Linked DNA regions of Homo sapiens: region 2 is linked to region 1. The links are contacts of gene promoters, found by promoter capture Hi-C in blood cells and fetal thymus (Javierre and others, 2016). All regions are on one chromosome and are shown on one strand. Each heading gives the region's core, a stretch centred on a gene start or on the middle of the fragment in contact. The rest is flanking DNA. Distances are from core to core; before and after follow the strand shown.

Region 1 (6,605 bases), core at 1,521-4,020:
TGAATAGTTGTGGTAGTAGACATTCTTGTCTTGTTCCTGACATTAATATAAATATTTCTGAGTTTCCTTATAGATTATAGCACTAGCTTTTAGATTGAGATTAGTATATTGCACTAGGTTAAGGAAGTATCTATTGCCATTTATTGACAGTTTTGTTTTGTTGTTTATTTGCTTGTTTAGTAAGAATGGATGTTGGAGTTTATCAAATGTCTCTCAGCATCTAGAAACATGATTTTTAATCTATTAGTGTGGTAGAAATATATTAATAGATTTCCTAATATTGAACCATCCTTGCATTCTAGAATAAATATAATTGCTCATGGTGTGTTAGTTTTTTAATGTGTAATTGGATTTTGTTTAATAATGCTTTATATTCATAATTTTTGTGTAATAATCCTAACAGTTATTGTTTTATTATTTTGATTTTCTTCTTCAAGAACACCAATTATGCATATGTTTGATTTTTTTATATATTTTGCATCTATCATATAACCCTTTTAAATATCTTTTTTATTTATTCTTTTTACTCATTTTTTTCTAATTCCGTCTTCCACATGTCTAGCTATGCTTTCAGCAATGCCCTGTCTTCTTTGTGCAGTTTCCTACCACTTCTCATTCAGCTTTATCGCCTTTCCTTTTTCTAGAAACCTCACCACTTTGAGGCCCAGGGAAGCACTCAGTCAAGCTGACACACCCTTATTGCTAGAGAACAAATATCAGCAAACTATAGCCCATTGGCTAGCTTTCTTTTTTGGGAAGTAAAGTTTTATTGGAATATAGATATGCCCATTTGTTTATTGTACATGGTTGCTTCAGCACTACAGTGGCAGAATTTGATAGTTATGGCAGAGACCATATGGCCCAGAAATTCTAAAATATTTACTATTTGGTTGTATAAGAAGTGGTTTGCTGCCCTCTATTGTAAAAACCTCCATTTACATTTCAGTATGTATCACTTAGAATTGTGCTTTTATGACTTTCTTGAAGCTCAGAATCCACAGGCATCTTCACTCTGGTACTTCCTATGTCCTATGCCACTAAGTCTTCTCTCTCTCTCATTTAAAAATCTCTGTTGTTTCCTAGTTTTACAAAGGATAAGCTTTGCATTACTGTTTTTCTTGATTCCCTTGATGTTTTGGTTGGTTTTTCTGAGATATGAATAAGAAAATACTCACTTAGCTCTGCATGTTAAAATTGGAAGTCCTCAGATAATATTCCAAGAAATTATTTTTTATTTTCATCTTTGGTTGGTTGTTTTTTGACCATTGGATAGAGATCTTAGCATACTAAATGTCTTTATCCTGAATATATAGAGATTTTCTCTCCTTAATTTAATGATTTTATGACTTCTGCAATTCTTTTAGTGATTATTTAGTTCTCAATGAAGAACATAAACACAACTTTTTAAAAAACATGTATTAGTAAGGAAAAATTTGTTTTATATTTTCTATTGCCCTAAATTCTGACTCATATTAGACAGCTCGGAGTAATATTTAATACTTGAAACTTCACAAGTAATTACAAATAAATAAATGCTATAAATATTAAAAAATAGGAGCAATCTCAACTTTATCCTCACATTTTTCTGCTAAGACTTATTTAGTTACATATTGGGCTTATTTTAAAATTTAACCAAAATTATTTGATCTTTAATTATGTTTTTACCTAGAAATGTATATTTAAAAATAAAGTGTAATTCCAGTTGTATTTATACTATTCAGAATTTCAGAAGTCTGTAATCCCAGCTACTCGGGAGGCTGAGGCAGGAGAATTGCTTGAGCCTGGGAAGTGGAGGTTGCAATGAGCAGAGATCGCACCATTGCACTCCAGCCTGGGTGACAGAGCTAGACTCACTGCACTCTAGCCTGGGTGACAGAGCTAGACTCCCTCTCAAAAAAAAAAAAAAAAAAAAAAGTCGGTCTGCTCCTCTGCCTTTTTTTTTCCTACTTTTAAGAGTAGTCTGCCTCCGCAAACTTTAGTAAAGAAGTACTAAAATTAAGTGTGTTAAATGGTGTTAAGATATATATAAAAATTAATTTTTAAAGAGAGTTTAGATTGTTATCTTTAAATTTTTTTATACATTTCATAAAACATAAGTATTTCCTAATCATTAATAGGTTTTAATGAGCTTTAGTAGATGAGCAGAAATATCAGAGATATAAAATGATACTATACCGGCTTCCTTAAGAAGCTTTCTATTATTTCTTAGAATCCTGCTTTATTCTCTTTCTTGAATTCATACATGGCATTTAAAAATCTCTTAAAGATGGTCATCAAAAACAAACAAATTTTTTAAAAGATGGTATTTGACATCTCCCCTCCCTCCTCCTGCTTCTCTCAAGCACCAGTTTCCAGGTACCACTGCCTATAAAGCCTTTTCCAAACACAAATTTAATCTTTGAGTGTTGAGGTTTTTTTGGTGTTTTTTTTTTTAAGGTAATGTATTATCCTATGCAATGATATTGAGCTTTTGACTGAGAAATTGTGAAATCAAAAGTAAAGTATAGGAATTCCTTAATGGACATTTCAAGAACTTTGAAAGGCTATTGTAAGGGGAAGAAAGAGGGAAAATCTGTTTCAGTAGGAGACCTTCTCACCTCTTTACTCATAAGCCAGCCCGGGCATCATATGACTTCATCAGACTGCAACTTACTGTTCTCCCCTTTGTGGGGAGTGTCAAATGCTATAATAGAGTTCTCCAGTCTGAGGTCAGCGAAAGCTTCTCAAAGGAGATGATGCCTGGCTAAAGGGACTTTCTTTCTGAGAAAGGGATCAGCATGTGCAAAGATGAAGAGGCATAAGGACTGACCAGTGGGTCACGGCAATGAGACATTTACTGCTGACCTCCAAGAGAAGACTTCCATTGAATGAGAGGAAGATCTACACTACTAATGATCAAACTGTGAGTGTTTTAGCTTTGTAGACTTATCAGGAACTTGGGAGATCAAGAAGACAGGATCAAACAGCAAATGGAGCTTTATCAGAAATGAAGAAAAGCATTTCTCCACAGTCCTAAGCTAAACCCTTTCTGCTAGTCCCAGTTCTTATATGTGCATCAAGGCAAAAAAACATTAATCAGAACAGGAATGTTTGATTGCTCATTCAAATTTGAAATAAGCAGCTTCCATTCTTCTAACCTTCCCTGGTGGGGCCATAACATTATCAATCAATATCAAGTCTGGCATATCATTGGCTATCACTATCCAGTGAGTATCTGAGGCAGCTGAAAGAAATTGGGGCATCCATGTAAGAATATTCATTTTCTATCATTATTTACTTAAATATGTAATATATCAAGATCTGTTAGACATATTTAAGTATATATACTTATATGAGGTTGGGGGTCCCTGCAAGAAGTACCAAGTGTTTCTAGAAGAAATGTACTTGAATATAATCGCTGTATAATCACTGTGAGAACAGAGTTCCATATCTGTCCTGTACATGCTTGTCTCTAGTACCTGGAGCAGTATCTGACACAGATATGTGTTGAGTGAATGGATGAATAAATAGATAGAAGGAAGATCCTCCAACTATGAAGTTTCTTCTTTTCTTCTGCTGCTGTTGAGTAGATGAGGGTGCCAAGAAATAAGACAGCAACACCAGGAAGAAGAACAAATTTGGGGTGAGTAGGGGTGGAAAGGATGACTGATTTATAAATTGGGTTTAGGAGCCAAGAGTTATGCTCTAGCAATTGGGTATAGTAGAAGATATTTAAATAAGAAATTGCTGATATTCTTGCAAACTGAGCTTTTCTGTAAAATCATGAGTTTAGAATTCTTTATTTCAGAAGGAAAAAAAAAAACTTAGAAAGGTCAGTTGGAACAAAAAGGGAAATTAAAAAGCCACAGAGAGAAACAACTATGGTGTCCTGGGGTACATTTAAAATAAGAAGGTACTTAAGCAAAATCATTGCGTTGAGGACATTTTCTTAAATAGGATCAATTACCAGTGTCCCAGTCAATTCCACATGTCAAGAAGCTTGTCTACCTACTTGACTGACCCAGGCCTAAAAATGATAATAGCAACTTGGTGGAGTTATCTAAAGTTTGACAACCTTTCCTCACCAACCGGCAGCCCCATAGGACATATTAATCACTGCAGTTTTTACCTTGTACCAGATATTTAGAAAGTAAAACCGAAGAAATTTATTTCCATGTGTTTTGGTTGAAAAAAAGAGACGTTTCACTCAATCTATTCCAGAAAATATAGCCACTTTGGGACTGAACATTTCTTTCCATCTTAGCCCAAAGGCAATCACATTAGGGACGTTGTATGCAATTGGGGTGATAAAAATTGAGCTGTGGTCTAACCTATTGCATAATTTTCATTCTAAAATTACTTGACGCCGGACATAATGGCCCCATCAGTCAACCTATCATCTGGCTAGTTAAATGAAGTAAAATAACCTCAGCTGGTCTCAGAGGAGTGAGAATTCAACTGCCTGAGGGGTTGAGATTTCCTGAGAGTTTGTTCTGGATCTCTGTTGGGTCAGCCAGCATGCAATCTTACCTTCTGTCTCCACGGAAAAGCCCATTCAGGCCAAGGGAGAAGCTGCTTTAGATGAAGGCTGTAACCCAAGATGGAAACACTTAACCAGGCCAAAAACACTTTTTTCTTTTTGGTGGATCCAGTGCACAATGATTGTTCCTAATTAGGAGGTCTGACTTGAAAAGTTCTCCCCAAATGCCAGGAGAAAGTTCTCCTTAAGTGTCTTTGCAAAAAAGATACAGTGGGACAGAAAGTCAGTATTGATTTAAGGAACACAGCTGCATAAACAATGTTCATTCACCACAAGAAGAAAATTTATAGTATTTGTCAGGGAAAAGTAAACACGTTAGGGACTCTGTTTGTGACACAGTGTCACACATGATCCTTTGAGCCAGCAGGGACAAGAACAGATCAACAACAGAAGCAGCTTTCTCATGATGCTTGGGGTAGCACTTTTTTTTTTTTAACCTAACCCATTTTCTGCTTCATATTTTAAGAGGACATTACATTCAGACCATTGATACGTCTGTGGATGTTGGGGAAAGAGAGGAAACTATAGTGATGAGTCCTCTACCATCCTCATTCTCTATACTTTCCGGAAAAGAAATTCTGGAAAAAAAAAAAAAAAAAGCTAAAAAGCTAAATTCTCTTAAGAATTTCAGTGGTTGTAGGCATTCACTCCTGAAGCTATTTTTCCCCCAGGTTTGGGATTTGGCCCAGCCTTACAGAAATGTTTTCCAGACTTTAAATTTCATGGAGAGTTAAAATTGGTTTTAAACCCAATACAGAGTTTCCATCTTTTAATTTTACAAAGAAAGGTCATCTAAACAAAACAATATGTTTCTACCATCTATTATTACCTTTGCTTTCTATAAGATATGAATGTTTTAATACCAAAAGGGAAAGGCAAGAAAAGCAAGGATAAAAGCCTCAAAATAAAGGATAAAGCCCAATCCTTCTCATTTAGCTATTGAAAGTTGAAGACTATATCAGTAAGTGGCCCTGGTCCACAGACGGGCATTTGGAAATCACCGCATTAGGGGAAAGGCCACCGGGAATGTCTTGTGCCAAGGGCTGTAGAACACAGAGGTGTTTTGTTGTGTGTGGTTCATGCAGAGCTGTCATACCCATAGCTGTTCATCATACCCGTATCTCAGCAATCTATAAGTGTTGTTAAAGGGGCCTTGGGAGGAATTCAACTGTTGTGAATTTTTTAGTTTATTTTAAAGTTTGGCAAAATTTATATTATACATCCCTGGATTCTTAAATCTTTAAAGCCCAGTGGAATTTCAAAGAGCTTAATGATGTTTTCCTTTTAATGATCTTGACCCCAGAAATTCATTTTTAAAAGTAGTGTTACAGAGATAGAAAGTGTTCTGAACATTTTCAGGATAACCTGTGGTACCAGTGAACATACACAGACTTCCTAGGGGTTCCATGCAGGAAAGTGTGTATGTGTGTGCTTGTATGGGTATGCATGTGTGTGCCTGCATCTGTTTGCATGTGTGTGCATGCGTGGCAGCTGGAAGCACCTACCAGGGAGAGCCCTACTTTTGCTTGTCAGGGCCCCAGAAAACTGCAACTTATTGCTCTGACTTAAATTGGCAAACTATAAAGGTCACTTTTGGTCCTTTTTAGAAAACATCTAACCAGAAAAGGGAAGTGCAAATTAGAACAGTTTAGGCAGAAACTGAAAGTTAAGAACCGAGGGAAGGCCTTTAGAAAGAGAAGTAACCAGAGAGGTGAGAGGAAGAACACCAAGAAGAAGGAGTGCTCATATATGCCAGACTTCTTACAAGGAGTCCTCAGGCCTCCAGCAATCCATGGCTTTACTGAGAGCTTTCTCCTCTATATAGCACTCCTATCTATTAAATAGACATGCGTAAAATTGGCTAAAACCTCCTGTCCCAGAAAGGATTGTGATGATGGGCATTTCTGAGAGGGAAGTCTGCTCACCTGTGAAACGTTCCTGGCAGAACTTCTGTGGCTCAGTCCAGGAAGAAAATGGACCCATCAAATGGGTTTAGCATTGAGGCTCCCTTCCTAGCCATTGCCAGCCTTCCAGCACTAGCCACATGGCCTGCGGATGCTAAGTAGGAAAGCCTAGCTGCCCCAAC
Region 2 (6,111 bases), core at 80-2,579, 480 kb before region 1:
ATTTCATTTTGAATTAGTTTTTATATACAATTTAAAGTATGGATCAATGTTTATATTTTTGCATGTGGATATACAATTTTTCCAGCACAATTTATAGAAAAGCTTATTATTACTTCCCTGACTTACCTTTGTACTTCTAGCAAAAATCAATTGTTTGTATATGTGTGGACCTATTTATGGACCCTCTATTTTGCTCCACTGATCTATTTGTCTATCCTTATGCCAGTGCCACACTGTATTGATAACTGTAGTTCTATAATAAGACTTGAAATCAAGGCATGTAAGCCCTCCAGTGTTGTTCTTTTTTCAAAGTTTCTTCAGTATTCGAGGTCTTTTGCATTTCCATATGAATTTTAGAATTAAATTCTCAATTTTTATGGAAAAATTTACTTTTGACTATTGAAAAATTGAATTTTGATTGAGATTGTGTCAAATCTTTATAGATCAGTTTGGAGAAAATAGACATCTTAGCAAAATTGAGTCTTCTGAGGTTGCTCATAACCTACCTTATTGGACACAACAAGAAAGAATGGCACTGCCAATGCTGTGCAGCCCCCACTCTGCCCTTAGTATGTCACATGTGGCATCTGATGTTCAGGCTGAGCAAAATGTCAGTGTCAAGTCATATAATAAATTAGTCACAAATGAGCTTAATTCCTTGCCTTCTAAAAATAAAAATAAAGAGAAGATTAAGTTATAGTATTTTCTTCCTATACCCCAGTGTATAATTTTTTCCCGACTAAGTAGACCACTAGTAAAATGCCTTTCTACCTCTAAGATGCTAGAATAGAAAAAAAATATTGTTCCCTGCTCATCCCAATGATCAAAATTACCTTGTATTTTGTGATGACTGCTTTGGATTTCCAAGGCAGTAGCCACCATGTCTCACCTCATGCCCTGCATGACTTAAGGGAAAGAAGAGATCATAGACAACATCTGGCTGTCTAGTAAGTAGAGCTTGACAGTGTCAGAAACAAGATGCGATGCAGCTATTACTTTGTTAGCTATAGTGCTCTGATTGTTATTTGTTGATGAAAGCTGTGGGAAGAAATGGCAATGCATATAAACAGGAGAAATTTAGTTATAATTTATGCTTCTTTAGAAAATGCCAGCAGCAAACATCATTTCCAAAGCATTCAAACCACCTATGACTAATCACAGGATGACCAATGTTCCCCTTGTGACGTGGTAATCAAGTGCGTTGAAGACATTCCACCTAATTTTGAGCATTTTAAGCAGTATGATGCCATGATTCAGATTTTCCTATTGCAGGTGTCCACAATATTTCCAAATTTATGATATTTTGGAGCCTATGCATTTTTCCCTATGGGCATTGATGACCCACACTGAGTAGAATGAGCAATGTGGGTGTTGGATTGCTGGGCAATTCTTATGCTCCCTGGAGGGATCCCTTTCTCAATTGCCACGGCAGCTATTCCAAACCTTTACATTCATTAACATCCAATAAATATTGATGGAAGCCTTCTCCATAACAGAAACTGTACTCCCACCTTCTACCTATGTTTTCTTCATTTTTAGCAGATAAATCAAATTTTTAACTTTTCAACTACACTTTCTCTTTCTACTTCCAAATGTGCCCATTGTCTCACATCTTTTTACTTCTATCCTTTCTATCTCTCAAGAAGACGCATCCTTCTCAAATACATCCTCACCCCCTATTCTCATTCTGGCTGATCTCCTGTGTCTCTAGGAACTTTGTTCAGATATTCTGCTTCCTCTTATTTTCCATCTTTTCAACTGGACCCATCTTTCCAGATTGCAAATCTGATAGTATCTCCCCGCCAGCCTCCCCACTCCCACACACTAAACCCTGCAGTGGTCACTAGTACTCTTAGGATATATTGAGAAAAAATTATTCCATTTGGCCTCCAAAGCCCTACATAGTCTGGCTTCTGCCTGCCTCCCCATTCTTACTTTTTTTTTTTTAGACAGAGTCTCACTTTGTTGCCCGGGCCAGAGAGAGTGCAGTGGCACTATCTCGGCTCATTGTGACCTCCACCTCCGTGGTTCAAGAGATTCTCGTGCCTCAGCCTCCTGAGTAGCTGGGATTACAGGCGTGCACCACCACGCCCAGCTAATTTTTGTATTTTTAGTAGAGACAGGGTTTTGCCATGTTGGCCAGCTGGTCTCAAACTCCTGCTCTCAAGTGATCTGCCTGCTTCAGCCTCCCAAAGTGCTGGGAGTACAGGCATGAGCCGCCATGCGCAGCCTCCATTCTTATTTTCACTCATTCCTCCTCTCTCTGCTCTACACATACTGGATTTTCAATCCCTGAAACACATCTTGGGGTTTCTCCTATCACAGGGCCTTGCACAAGCTCTTCCCTCTTTACTTAAGTTCCACTCATCTTTGCTGTCTTACTTAAGCATAATTTCTGTAGGAAAACCTTCCCTGACAAGTTGTTATTCTGCCAGTTTTTTCCCTGTAGACTCCCATGGCTTGATTTATGTCTTATTCTTAGAATTTGCCATAATTGACATATTCTATTTAGTGAGAATGATTATTTGATTAACATCTGTCTCCCTCACGAAGGTATAAGCTTCAGGAGGGCAGAGGCTTGTCTTGTTGTGCCCACCACTTAATAACAGAGGCTGGGCCAGGTGCAGTGGCTCACACCTGTAATCCCAGCACTTTGGGAGGGTGAGGCAGGAGGATTGCTTGAGGTCAGGAGTTAAAAGACCAGCCTGGCCAACATGATGAAATCCCATCTCTACTAAAAATACAAAAATTAGCTGGGCGTGGTGGTGCCTGCCTGTAATCCCAGCTACTCAGGAGGCTGAGGCACATTTTCTTCCTTCACTTTTTTCTCTTACTACTCTTCTCTCTTCCTTCTTTGTTTTGTTTACTATCTTTTTTCTCTCTTTTTATCACTTTATCTAATAAATACTTATTGGGCAAATGAATGAAATGCTAGTCTTCCTGAGGGTTTTCTGGTTTTTGACTTTTTTTTCTCTTTTTCGTCTGCCTCCTTTTCCTTAGTAATCTTATCCAACACCATGGCTTCACCACCATCCATATCCATAATGCCCCATGATGTCCAGACCTGTATTTTCAACTGATTATCTTCCTGGAATTGTCCTCTAGTTACTTAAACTCAACCTAACTCAAACCAAAGTGGTTATCTTCCTTAAATATTTTTCTTCTGCTTAATCCTACCCTTTGTAAAGTTTGCCACTACCCATTTCAAACGGCTTAAACCCAAAACCTAAGGTCATTTTTCTTCCTTTTCCACAAATACCAAATTCTGTTGATGCAAATGAAATGTCCCTTTCCAAAATCCCCACTTATATGCCCCTAAGTACTATTGCCTAGTTTTGTTCTTCTCTAACTTTTCCAGAAGGAGAACTCTTTTATGTAAGAGGAATATGTAAAAATTATGACATGAGGTGGACGGAAGGGAGCTGCTCTAGCTGAAGGTGGGAGAAGGGATCTGAAAGCAATCCCTTGCCCACTGAGGCAGTACCAGAAGTTGGTATAGTTTGAAAGCTACTAGCCTACGTTACTGCAACACCCTTTAAAAAAACTGCTTTTACATTTTTTTTCACATGTAAAACACAGAAATAATAGAGATTTATGAAATATCTACTATGGGCTAGGCATTGTAGCAGGTGCTGTGAATATAATGGTGATTGAAATCAATATAGCCCCTGCTCTCAAGGAGGTTATATCTAACAGGGATGGCAGAGAGAAAAAAAGCAATTATAACCAAGTGAAGTAAGTGCTATGATGTGGGTGGCAAGGAGCTGCGGGCTATGTAGGAGAAGACCTAATGTAGTGCAGGGACAGGTTGGGGGTGGACCACGGGTAGCTTCCTACAGGAAGAGACTGTTAGGCTAGGACCTAAAAGATGAGTTGGAGTTCAGCAGGTGAAGAGAAGAGAAGACTGTTTCAGGCAGAGGAAACAGCACTGTTGGTTGTTCCAAGGGAGCTAGCTCAGCACTGTAGGGAGAGGAGCGGGAGTGTAGAGTGAGTATTCACGTCAGGGCTCATCTTTAGCTTAAAAAGAACCAGGGAACTCTGGAGAGTCTAGTTCAGAGTATAATGCTTTCTCCATCCCTTTCTTGCCCCGTCCTGCCTGGTTTCTTCTTTCGGCTTTGGTACTCATTGGGATTAGTTCCTCACTGCCAAGCTTGAAGCCAATAATTTGATCTGAAGCAGACGACTTTCAGCAAACCACCGGAAGCCTCCCTGCTCCCCATCTCCATGCGACAACCTCAAATAATTCAGAGCTGTGTAAACCTTGAAACCACCTAAGCCCCACCCAGAGACCTCATAACTCTTAAAAAATTCTTCCTCAAACAGAGGAATTTCGTAGGCTTGTTTGATCTTTTTATGTTGCTGTTTTCAGGATATAACTTTTCTCTTTTCCTCTCAAGCCCGGGCTCTAGGCAGTTATCCAAGAGAAGAGAGGTCTGGAGACTTCAGCCTGTCTCAGGGCACACATCAAGGCAGAGATGAAAATATAGGTGAATAGTCTGGGATATCTTTATGAACACTTCTCAGATGACTTGGCTGAAATCTTTCTCTTACATCAGAACTCAATGGTTTTAACAACACAGTTTGATAAAAAACATTTTCTTTAGCAGTCATGTTACAGTAATTAACATGTAACCTTGGGAACTCTATACGTGATTTAATTCCTCTCTGAACCAATTTTTCCTAGTTTTGTAGACATATCTTGGGTTTCTTTCCAGGTACAAGAAGAGTTTTAAGAATGATGGCCATATGGATTTTCTGTTTAGCAGAATTCTCTATATTTTGAGTATCTTTACCCAAAGGTTAGTATTAGACAGACAGTGAAATGAAAATTAAAATGGAAATAATAGTACAATAGGCCTGCATGTTCTTATCTGAAACTTTTGTGGCCAGATATATTTAATAATTCAAAATATCTGAGATATTAGAAAGATAATATGGTGCCTATATTACATAATATTATAGGTGGGGTCTGGAGTGTGATCACGCATAACATGTCTGATACGGAATATCTGAATATCCACACTGCATAGCATAGCCTCACGTTAGTTCACCAAATGAACTTTGGTGCCACACTTAACAAAAATACCTTAGTTTCCGAAGCATTTTGGATTTTGGAATTGCTGAGAAGTAATTGTATACCTGTCCTTGTCTTGCTTCACTGAGAGAGTTGCTGTATCAAGGGTGTTTAATCAGAAAAATGTTATTTCATCATAAAATGTTATTTTATAGCCTAGCCTAACAGCATTGGAGAATCTTTGTCCCCCTTTTTTTTTTCGGCACATGTCTGTTTGCAAAATCTTTTTTGGTTATAATTAAAGTAATTCCTCTATTGGAAGTTCAATATACTATTCTATGATCTGAGTCATTATTTTACTTTCAGTCCACCAGCTGCTGTTTGCCAAGCTGATTGGCTTTCCAATATATATTTCATTTACTATAGGTTGCAGGGGTATCTCTTTCCAGATGATCTATTGGACATAGTCCTTTATGCCTCTATTACTTGTTTTGAGAAACTTTTCCTAAGTTAGTTGTTTAGTTGACTGTGTTGGTCCGGTGGGCATCTCAGATTTATTTGTCTAGAAACTATGCTACCTGGAGGCATAGAAAGAGTAAAGTACTTGGAATACCCAGAACTCCTGGATTTGCATTTCATTTCTGCTTCTTTCTAGCTATGGTGGTGATGGCTTACAATCCATTGAACTTGTCTGAGCTTTAATTTCTCAACTTCAAAATGGGGATTAATAATAACAGCTTTTGCTACTTCTCAGGCATAATGTGAAGTAAAATGAGAAGAGGTTGGTGCAAACAAGAAGATACAGTGCAATTCACATTCAACGAAAGGGAACGGTCTAAATGCAAGGTCTATATGCACTTAAGGTGTTTTTATTGATAAATATTGGGTTACATGGCTTTACTTCTGCTCAGATCTGGATAGGGACCATTTATTGAGTGGCTGCTGTATCAGGAACCACAGGAGGCAACCTCGATTAATCCCAGTAAAACCCCTTTGAGGTGGCTGCCATCATTCTCTATTTGAGAGAGGATAGAGACCTGACCAAGGTCACATCACCACTTAGCGCCTGAGCCAGATTGAAAACCAGATTTGTTTGA

What was found. Contacts are between HindIII fragments. The CHiCAGO score rates a contact against its expected background, and 5 or more counts as called.
Region 2: a contact is called between a fragment that was not itself captured here and the fragment with the promoter of DLEU7-AS1 in region 1, in 1 of 17 cell types (monocytes). The highest score is 6.2, in monocytes.

What each region holds. Positions count from the first base shown.
Region 1 is chr13:50,805,085-50,811,689 of GRCh38, forward strand. DLEU7-AS1 (DLEU7 antisense RNA 1) reads left to right here and starts at 2,771. Exons shown (of 5, transcript NR_046551.1): 1 at 2,771-2,902; 2 at 3,456-3,622. It also overlaps a transcript of DLEU7 not described here. The HindIII fragment of the contact is 1,259 bases long and covers 2,718-3,976 here.
Region 2 is chr13:50,322,693-50,328,803 of GRCh38, forward strand. The region is part of intron 2 of DLEU1 (deleted in lymphocytic leukemia 1); the gene reads left to right. Among named protein-coding and RNA genes, the nearest start is that of DLEU2, 200 kb to the left of the region's middle. The HindIII fragment of the contact is 2,458 bases long and covers 101-2,558 here.